Linked DNA regions of Homo sapiens: region 2 is linked to region 1. The links are contacts of gene promoters, found by promoter capture Hi-C in human tissues and cell types (Jung and others, 2019). All regions are on one chromosome and are shown on one strand. Each heading gives the region's core, a stretch centred on a gene start or on the middle of the fragment in contact. The rest is flanking DNA. Distances are from core to core; before and after follow the strand shown.

Region 1 (5,582 bases), core at 2,427-4,926:
TTTACCGTTGTCAACAAGGCCCTACATATTATGGTCTCTGCTACCTGCCAAACATCATCTCCTTCTATTCCTCCCCTTGATCATTCTCTCCAGGAGTGACCTTCCTGCCACACCCCTTCTCCTATTCTCTGTGCTTAGGATGTTCTTCCCATCTGCATGTCTACTCTATCACTTTTGTCAGGTCTCTGCTCAAGTGACTTTATCATCAAGGCCTTTTCTGATCACCCTAATAAAATAGTATGTGTCCTACCAATCTCTAGCCACTTTCCTGCTTTATTTTTATGGCATAGTTTTGTTTTTTTTTTTTAGGTAGGGTCTCACTCTGTCTCCAGGCTATAGAGCAGTGGCGTGATTATAACTCTTTGCAGCCTCCATCCCCTGGGCTCAAGTGATCCTCCCGCCTCAGCCTCCCAAGTGGTTCAGACTACAGGTGCGCACCACCATGCCCAGCTAATTTTTTTTTTTAGTAGAGATGAGTTCTTGCTATGTTGTCCAGACTAATCCTGAATTCCCGAACTCAAGCAGTACTGCAGCCTTAGCCTCCCAAACAACTGGAATTACAGGCATAAGCCTGTAACAGCTGGCTTGACATACATTTTTTTAGTCATCTTTCTGCCTCCATGGCTATGGCTCAAATGTTAGGAACATATTCAGATACTTGTTTACAAAATCTGGCTGGGCGCGGTGGCTCACGCCTGTAATCCCAGCTCTCTGGGAGGCTGAGGCAGGTGGATCACCTGAGGTCAGGAGTTCAAGACCAGCCCGGCCAACATGGAAAAACCCTGTCTCTATTAAAAATACAAAAATTAGCTGGCCATGGTGGTGCACACCTGTAATCCCGCTACTCAGGAGGCTGAGACAGAAGAATCGCTTGAATCTGGGAGGCAGAGGCTGCAGTAAGCCAAGATTGCACCACTGTGCTCCAGCCTGGGCAACGGAGTGAGAATCCATCTTAAAAAAAAAAAATCAGAGAAACAGGACCTAGAAAGATAGTTGCTAAGGGTTTGGCATAGAGGGGAGTGGTAATTAGTGTTTAATGGGTATAGAGTTGCAGTTTTATAGGATGAAAAACTTAAGTATTTTAGGCCAGGCGCGGCAGCTCATACCTGTAATCCTAGCACTTTGGGAGGCCAAGGCAAGTATATCACTTGAGGGCAAGAGTTCAAGATCAGTTTGGCCAACGTGATGAAACCACAACTCTCTACTAAAAATACAAAAATTAGCTGGGCGTGGTGATGCACGCCTGCAATCCCAGCTATTTAGGGGGGCTGAGACACAAGAATCCCTCGAACCCGGGAAGTAGATAGAGGTTGCAGTGAGCTGTTATTGTGCCACTGCGTTCCAGCCTGGGTGACAGATTGAGACTCTGTCTCAAAGAAATAAAAAGTTGTACTAAGTATTTTTTCAAGCTACTCACAATAAACCAAAGTTCTAAAGATCTGTTGTTTAACAATGTTAATATACTTAACAATACAGAACTGTACACTTAAATATGTTAAGATGGCAATTTTTTTTTTTTTTTGAGACAGAGTCTCACTCTGTCGCCCAGGCTGGAGTGCAGTGGCGCGATCTCGGCTCACTGCAACCTCTGCCTCCCAGGTTCACACCATTCTCCTGCCTCAGCCTCCTGAGTAGCTGGGACTACAGGTGCCCGCCACCACGCCGGGCTAATTTCTTTTGTATTTTTAGTAGAGACAGGGTTTCACTGTGTTAGCCAGGATGGTCTCCATCTCCTGACCTCGTGATCCGCCCACCTCGGCCTCCCAAAGTGCTGGGATTATACGCGTGAGCCACCATGCCCAGCCAAGATGGCAAATTTAGTATGTTTAGTGCATATAAAACTATAATTTAAAGTAACAGTTAAAAACATAGCTGGGTGCCAGAAACTGTGCAGGCTGCTTTTGTGTTAAGTCTCTCATCTTAAGGGAAGCTGAACAGAGAAGAGGAAAACAGGTAATCCAAGTTCCCTAGTTCACTTACCCTGCAACAGGTACTCCATCATGTTAATGGTGCCCCCAGTGACAGGCATCATGGTGACTGGAGGTGCCTCCATGGTGTCTAAGTTGAAGACAACACAACTGGACTCAGAGCCCCCAGTCAGGTAAGGCACGGGATATACCTGGAAAAGAGTTCACTTGTTTATACATCAAAGTGGTGGAGAGAGACCAGATCTGTTGTGGCACTGGCCTTCAAATCAAAGATTCATTCATTCAAAAACGTTTGAGTATTTCCTTATATGGCCAGTTCCAGGAACTGATGACACAGAAATATAGAAAGGAGATCTGGTCATGGAGTTACAGCATTACCTTCTAGTCTCAAGTTCTGAAACCTCCACATTACCTGTGCAATCTTGAGAAAGTCCTATCTATAACCCCTCACCCTGGGACTCAATGTCTTCCTTATAAAATGAGGCCAGTGATTTTTTTTTTTTTTTTTTTTTGAGACGGAGTTTCACTCTTGTCGCCCAGGCTGGAGTGCAATGGCGCAATCTCTGTTCACTGCAGCCTCTGCCTCCCAGGTTCAAGCGATTCTCCTGTCTCAGCCTCCCGAGTAGCTGGGATTACAGGCGCCCGCAACCAAGCCCAGCTAATTTTTTTTGTATTTTTAGTAGAGACGGGGTTTCGTCATGTTGGCCAGGTTGGCCTCGAACTCCTGGCCTCAGGTGATACTCAGGTGATCCGGCCTCCCAAAGTGCTGGCATTACAGGTGTGAGCCACCGTGCCCGGCCAAAGGCCAGTGATTTTTAACTCCCAAGGCTATGTGGCTCAAACGAGATAATAAAGAGGCAACAAAATTCAGAAGAACTGAAAAAGTGACTTAAGGGACCTTCGTTTTATAGATGAGGATATTGAGACTTGGAGAGGGACAGAAGGATACACACAGCAAGTTGGTAGCAGAGTTTGGACCAAACTAACATCTAGGCGTTCTATCTCTCTGAAAATGCCTTCCCCCGTACGCTTTTCTTTTTTGGTGACAGGATCTCGCTCTGTAGCCCAGGCTGCAGTGCAGTGGGGAGTTCCTAGCTCACTATAACCTCGAACTCCTGGGCTCAAGCCGAGTAGCTGGGACTACTACAGGCGGGAGACCACACTGCGGCTAGCCTAAAAATGCCTTTTAAAGAGAGCCAAGGCCGGGCGCGGTGGCTCACGCCTGTAATCTCAGTACTTTGGGAGGCCGAGGCCGGCGGATCAACTGGAGGTTGGGAGTTCGAGACCAGCCTGACCAACATGAAGAAACCCCGACTCTACTAAAAATACAAAAAATTAGCCAGGCCTGGTGGCGAGCGCCTGTAATCCCAGCTCCTCAGGAGGCTGAGGCAGGAGAATCGCTTGAACCCGGAAGGCGAGGTTGCGGTGAGCCGAGATCGCGCCATTGCACTCCAGCCTGGGCAACAAGAGCGAAACTCCGTCTCAAAAAAAAAAAAAAAAAAAAAAAGAGAGAGAGAGCCAAGGGGAAGTTATTTTAAGATGATGGTATATAGGTCCTTCTAAGCCGGCATCCATAACACGTATCCAATTAAACACTAGAAGCACACCTCCTTGAGGCTGTAGTGTCTTCTCGAGAAGCCGGGAATTATATCCACCCGCGCACCTAGGAGCTTTTGAGCGACGATTAGATACCAGCACTCCGGTTACCCGAGCCCGGGAAGCCCCCAGATCGGTGCAACCAGCCAACTTCCTCCTCTTCTCACTTCCGGTCGGAAGCCGACGTCTCACAAACCTCGAAACTGCCGTTCCCAAACGTATGGGTGCCGAGAAGGCCGAAGAGCTTCATTGCGGACAGACAATCAGAGGCGCATGCGCAAAATTCCGGGCTGCTGTATGAAAGATGGCGGCCTCCTTTGGCGCTTTCCTCCGGGCGCTACCTGGATCCTTGACGTCATAGGCCATGCTCTAGGAAAATCTTTTTAGGTTTGACAACCTGGAGATGTATTTGTGTAGAAAGTCTCTTGGAACTGATAGGACTTACAGAGATTATAGTGGGTTTCAAAAGAAAAAAGAACTGAGGGGTTGGGCGCGGTGGCTCACGCCTGTAACCCCAGCACTTTGGGAGGCCGAGGCAGGCGGATCACTTGAGGTCAGGAGTTCGAGACCAGCCTGGCCAAGATGGTAAAACTCCGTCTCCATTAAAAATACAAAAATTAGCCGGGCATGGTGACGCGCGCCTGTAATCCCAGCTACTAGGGAGGCTGAGGTGGGAGAATCGCTTGAACGCGGGAGGCGGAAGTTGCAGCGAACCGAGATCGCGCCACTGCATTGTAGCCTGGGCTACAGAGAGAGACTCTGTCTCAAAAAAAAAAAAGAGTCTGGAAAAGGAGTAGGTCCAGATCCAGGAGTACTCTGCAGTGCCATACCAAAGAATACATGTGAGCTTTAAAAGAACCCTGGCTACAACATGGAGAAAAGTTTGGGAAAGGAGAGAGCCTAGAGAAAAAAGACCAGGCCGGACACGGTGGCTCAGGCCTGTAATCCCAGCACTTTGGGAGGCCAAGGCGGGCAGATGGCTTGAGTTCAGGAATTCAAGACCAGCCTGAACAACATGGTGAAACCCTGTGTCTACAAAAAATACAAAAAATTAGCTGAACGTAGTGGCTCGCACCTGCAGTCCCAGCTACTTGGGAGGCTGAGGTGGGAGGATTGCTTGAGTCCAGGAGGCAGAGGTTGCAGTGAGCTGAGATAGCGCCACTGCACTCCAGCCTGTGCAACAGAGGGAGATCCTGTCTGGAAAAAAATTAAAGAAAAACGACCAGTTAGGCGCTTTGGTACAACTCCAGCTGAGAAACAAATGTCAGAAAAAGATTTTAAAAATGTAAAAAGAGGACAGGCGCGGTGGCTCACGCCTGTAATCCCAGCACTTTGGGAGGCCGAGGGGGGTGGATCACGAGGTCAGGAGATCGAGACCATCCTGGCTAACGGTGAAACCCTGTCTCTACTAAAAATACAGAAAATTAGCTGGGCGTAGTGGCGGGCGCCTGTAGTCCCAGCTACTTGGGAGGCTGAGTCAGGAGAATGGTGTGAACCTGGGAGACAGAGCTGGCAGTGAGCCGAGATCGCACCACTGCACTTTAGCCTGGGCGACAGAGCAAGACTCCGGCTCAAAAAAAAAAGTAAAAAGAGGAAATTAGCCGGGTGTGGTGGCACACGCCTGTAGTCCCAGCTACTCAGGTGGCTCAGGTGGTCAAGAGACCAAAATTGCTTGAACCCAGGAGGCAGAGGTTGTAGTGAGCTGAAATTGCACCACTGCTCTCCAGCCTGGGCTACAGAGCAAGACTCTGTCCTCTATATATATATGGAAAATAATTCTTTAATGACTAACCAGAGGTAAAGACAGAGATGAAGGAGTCACAGATGTCTTGGGTGGCTATCGTAGCACTTTTTTTCTCTAAGCTAGGAAACACAGAGCAGTGTGGGTGAGACAGGAAAGATGAGTTCATATGTAGACCCACTGAGCATCAGGTGTCTGTGGGACACCCAAATGGCAAAGTTCAGGGGAGAGAAATGGGCTACAGATAGAGATTTCAAAACCATAGCCTCATAGATGGTAGCTAAAAGCCATGACATTGAATGAGATCATCGTGAAAG
Region 2 (5,256 bases), core at 1,057-3,556, 600 kb before region 1:
TCATCCTCCCAAAGTGCTTGGATTACAGGTGCAAGCCACTTCACCTGGCCAGATCTTGATTTATTTATTTATGCTTTTTCTTTTTTTGATACAGGGTCTCACTTTGTCAACCAGGATAGAGTACAGTGGCATGAACATGGCTCACAGCTGCCTCAACCTCTCAAGCTCCAGCGATCCTCCCTCAGCCTCCTGAGTAGCTGGGACCACAAGGATGCGCCACCACCCCTGGCTAGTTCTGTTCATTTTTTGTAGGGACAAGGCCTCACTATGTTGTCCATGACTCAAGCAATCCTTCTGCCTCAGCCTTCCAAAGTGCTGGGAGTACAGGCGTTTGAGTCACCGTGCCTGGCCAGATCTTGGTTTCTAATGCCATTATCCAATAAAAGGAATGGGGACTCCTTGGAGAAATGACTGATTCTAGGAGCCGGGCAGGAAATATGCAAGATGAGCCTGGAGCATTTTGTAGTACCACAAAGTAGGAAAGTATTAAAATACACACACACACACACACACACACACACACACACACACAATGTCAAAAGAACCAGAGGCCAACCAAAAGAGCACCTGATGGCCAAAGCTGGAACAATTTGAGCAACAAAATAAATGAAGTAATACTGGATTAAAACCCAAAGTGTAAAATAAATATCCATATCAGTATGACTCCACACTGATATAAATGATTGAACAGATGAGGAAAAATAAAGTCTCTGATGCAGAATTACAAATAATTTGTGTAGATATTTTGCCCTCAAGGAGGTAGAGTACAACTCTCCACTCCTTAGGTGTGGGCTATGCATAGTGACTTTCATCTAAAGAGTACAGTATGGAAAAGGGGGGAAAGTATCTTTACAGCAGAGAAACCTGATAAACTACCTTAAGACCAAGGTCAACATCAGTAGTGATAAGTCATATTGATAGGATGTACCCTTGATAGGAAGTAATGAGAATGATACTTTACCTCTCTGGGTCTTCCTCCCAAAAACACATTATCAAGTCTAATAATGACAAAAACATCACACAAATCCCAACTGAGGCAATCTTACAAATATCTGACCAACAACCCTCAAAACTGTCAAGATCATCAAAAACAAAGCAAGTCTGAGAAACAATCACAACCAAGAAAACTGTAAGGAGAAATGAGTACTAGACATAATGTGGTATCCTGGATGGTATTCAGGAACAGGAAAAAGACATTAGGAAAAAAACCTGAGGAAATCTGAATAAAATATGAACTTTAGTTAACAATAATGTATCAATATCAGTTTACTAATGTTAAAAATATACTATACTAATATATTAATAATAGAGGAAACTGCAGTGTGGGGTATATAGGGACTCTGTACTATCTTCACAATAAATCTGTAAATCTAAAACCGTGTGTGTGGTTTTTTTAGACTAGGTCTTGCTTTGCCCAACATGACATACTGAGGACACATCACCTCTGTATTCTTCCCAAAAATCTACTATCTAATCGTGGAAAAAAATCAGACAAACCCCGACTGGCATTTTGTAAAACACCTGGCCGATACTCTATGAACGCATCAATGCTATGAAATGCAAGGAGATACTATCACAGATTGGAGGAGACTAAGGAAGACATAACCACTAAATGCAATGTGATAGCCTAGATTGAATCCTGGTCATCCTAGGTGACAATAAATTATGACTTGTGAAAATCTGAATAGGATGAAAGTTTACCACTACCCTAACCACAATAGAAGAGAGTTCCAAATCCAATCACAGTGCTGCACATCAGTTTTGAAGTCAGCTAAACATTGAGTCTTAGCACCCTCAGTTACTAGCTTCATGACCTTAGATAAGTTACCTCTCCCAGTCTGACTTTATGATTCATAAAAGGAAAATACCACCAGCTAAGGTGTGTTATTGCTGTAAGAATATTAAGCAAAGTGCAGTAAATCTTACTTATTTCTCTCTTCCTATCTTTTCTGCTTTTTGAGCAGAACAAGACAGACTCAAAGACAAATGTTGCCATCTATTTATCATCAAAATATAGTGAACACGGCAAATATGTTTGATCCAAAATGCTTTTCTGTTGCTGCCCTTTATTGATTCAAGCTCAAATGTTAAAGAAAAAAATACATAAAGACAAAACTTTTTCAAAAAATTAAATATACAAACTAAATATACCAAATATATTCAACTCAAATATATTCACAATACTAACAGTATTGGGCTCTCAACATTTAAATTGTCAACTGAGGTATTTAAAAATCTAACAAAATGTCTATACGTGTCTTTGTAAAACAAGAAAATCCTGGAAAAAAGCTTTAGTTCTTCGGTCACTAACTACTCATATTTCTTTGTTCTACTTGTAAACCCTTGACCTCCAGAAAGCTACCCCAAAAATAAAACAACGAATAATATTAATGACAAATATCAAGGCCATACTATCACAGAGCAAGTTTGCTTCTAAGTGATTTGCAGAGCATATGGTCTTTTAATATTCTACTTGATTTTCACTACCAAAAGAAGAGATGAAGAGAATTAGAGTTGACATGGAAGAGAAAATGTACTGAGAGCCTGACAAAACAAGAATATCTAGTCTAAAACTTAACAGAGGAGAAAGATCTTAGACTGAAAATATATAACTAGTTTGGCCTGTTTTTCATCTCCACATTAACAATAACATGAATTATTTGGGAAAAAAAAGATATCTGCTTTTTTTTTTTAAAGGAGGTAGGAGAGAAGCATAAAAAAAAAAAAGGAGAAAAAGCAGCAGCTTTGGCTCCTGGAAGAAAAGATAAAAATATAGAGGCCAGGCATGATGCTCATGCCTGTAATCCCAGCACTTTGGGAGGCCAAGGAGAGTGGATCACCTGAGGTCAAGAGTTCGAGATCAGCCTGGCCAACATGGCGAAACTCCATCTCTACTAAAAATACAAAAATTAGCCAGGTGTGGTGGCACCCACTTGTAATCCCTGCTACTCAGGAGGCTGAGGCAGAAGAATCACTTGAATTCGGGAGGCGGAGGCTGCAGTGAGCTGAGATAGTGCCACTGCACTCCAGCCTGGGCAACAGAGCAAGACTCCATTTCAAAAAAAACAAAAAACAAAACAAAACACTACAAGTTTCTAGTTGAACATTAAATCCAAGAAAATGATTCACATGAAGCAACTTATAATAACCAAACAATTGCAATAAATGCTTAAAATATAGACTAGGCATATTACAACCTCTTGGTTCATCTCTTAAGATTACTTACTATGCAGAAGTAGATTTACTGTTAAAATAAGCTTAAGCTCAGGGCCCTCATTTGTACTGGCCCCTGCCAAGGCCACCAAGCTAAAAGGAAGACTGAATTATCTTTGTGCTGTCTCTATTGAAAATATTACAAAGTCATTGGTCGGGCGCGGTGGCTCACGCCTGTAATCCTAGCACTTTGGGAGGCCGAGGCGAGTGGATCATGAGGTCAGGAGATCGAGACCATCCTGGCTAACACAGTGAAACCCTGTCTCTACCAACAATACAAAAAAAAAAAATCAGCCAGACGTGGTGGCGGGCGCCTGTAATCCCAGCTACTCGGGAGGCTGAGGCAGGAGAACTGCTTGAACCCGGGAGGCGGAGGTTGCAGTAAGCCGAGATCGCACCACTGCACTCCAGCCTGGGCAACAGAGCGAGACTTTGTCTCAAAAAAAAAAAAAAAATTACAAAGTCATAATATAAAACTCTTTAGAGGAGTATGAAGCCAAAAATACAGAAAAAAATGAACTATGACACCATATCAGTTAATTAAAATGTTAAGCTATTTTTCTAAATTTTGTGATATTTGTGCTATTTTTCAGCCTTTTTTTTTTTTTTTTTTAATGACAGAGTCTTACTCTGTTGCCAAGGCTAGAACCACCTTAGCTTCCCAAGCTCAAGTGACCCTCCCACCTCAGCCTCCCGAGTAGCTGGGACCACAGGTACATGCCACCACGTCCCATTAATTTTTAAATTTTTTGTAGAGGTGTGGTATCATATGTTGCCCTGGCTAGTATGAAACTCCTGGGCTCAAGCTATCCTCCTACGTCAGCCTCCCAAAGTGCTGGGATTACAAGCATGAGCCACCATGCTCAGCCTATTTTTCAGCTTTTTAAAATATGTAACTTGTGGTTTTCTCATTCTAGATAGGTATTTGTTTTCATCCCTAGTTTTGTATTCATAATTTTGTATTTTTTCCTAAAAAGTCTCTGTTGATAAGTATTCTGAATACTGATGGAATAATTTAGTCTGCCTCATACTTTCAGTATCATGTATTTAAGATATGTTTAAAAATCTCCCTTCCCATCATGGATCTTGGGTATTATTTATCACAAGGTACAATATACCACAGGATTTTTATTGAGAACTTTTATTTCTTAAAAGCATATTCAGCCAGAGAAAAATTACAGGTAAAAAAGGTGATGAAATGGGCCAGGTGCGGTGGCTCACGCCTGTAATCTCAGCACTTTGGGAGGCTGAGGCGGGCGGATCACCTGAGGTCAGGAGTTCGAGACCAGCCTGGCCAACAAGGTGAAACCCCGTCTCTACTAAAAATACAAAAATTAGCCAGGCATGGTGGTGTGTGCCTATAATCCCAGCTACTAGGGGGTCTGAGGCTGAAGGATCACTTAAACCTGGGAGGCGGAGGTTGCAGTGAGTCAAGATCGTGCCACTGCACTCCAGCCCAGGCAACAGAGAGAGACTCAGTCTCAAATTAAAAAAAAAACACACACACACACAGTTCAGGGCCAGATGTAGTGGTTCATGCCTGTAATCCCAGCACTTTGGGAGGCTGAGGAAGGACAATGTCTAGAGCCCAAGAGTTCAAGACCAGCCTGGGCAATATGACAAGACCCCGTTTCTATAAAAAAAAAAATTTTTTTTTTTTTAATTAGCTGGTGTGGTGGTGTGTGTCTGTAATTCCAACTACTCAGAAGGCTGCGGCGGTAGGATCACTTGAGCCCAGGAGTTCAAGGCTGCAGTGAGTTATGTTGGTGCCACTGCACTCCAGCCTGGGCAACAGAGTAAGACTCTGTTTCTTTAAAAAAAAAAAAAAAAAAAAAGGAAGCAACATATTGTATAATTCTATTTATATGAAATGTCTAGAATAGGTAAATCTAGAGAGACATAAAGTAGTTAGTGCTTACCTAGGACTGGGGTTGCAGGGTGGGGAATGGGGAATGACTGCTAATGAATATGAAGTTTCTTTTCAGGGGGATGAAAATGTTCAAAAATTAGATTGAGATGATGGCTGCACAACCCCATAAACAC

The links. The method cuts DNA at HindIII sites, captures the fragments that hold promoters and counts their contacts. A contact is called where the count stands out against the background at its distance.
Region 2: a contact is called between a fragment that was not itself captured here and the fragment with the promoter of MED18 in region 1, in 1 of the 25 tissues and cell types used here (spleen).

Annotation. Positions count from the first base shown.
Region 1 is chr1:28,327,134-28,332,715 of GRCh38, reverse strand. MED18 (mediator complex subunit 18) reads right to left here and starts at 3,676. Exons shown (of 3, transcript NM_017638.3): 1 at 3,536-3,676; 2 at 1,981-2,119. The coding sequence starts at 2,053. RefSeq lists enhancers at 2,627-3,134, 3,135-3,642. The HindIII fragment of the contact is 33,273 bases long and covers 1-5,582 here.
Region 2 is chr1:28,929,943-28,935,198 of GRCh38, reverse strand. The region is part of intron 1 of EPB41 (erythrocyte membrane protein band 4.1); the gene reads right to left. The region is part of intron 1 of LOC124903886 (a long non-coding RNA gene); the gene reads left to right. Among named protein-coding and RNA genes, the nearest start is that of EPB41, 18 kb to the right of the region's middle. The HindIII fragment of the contact is 5,237 bases long and covers 1-4,924 here.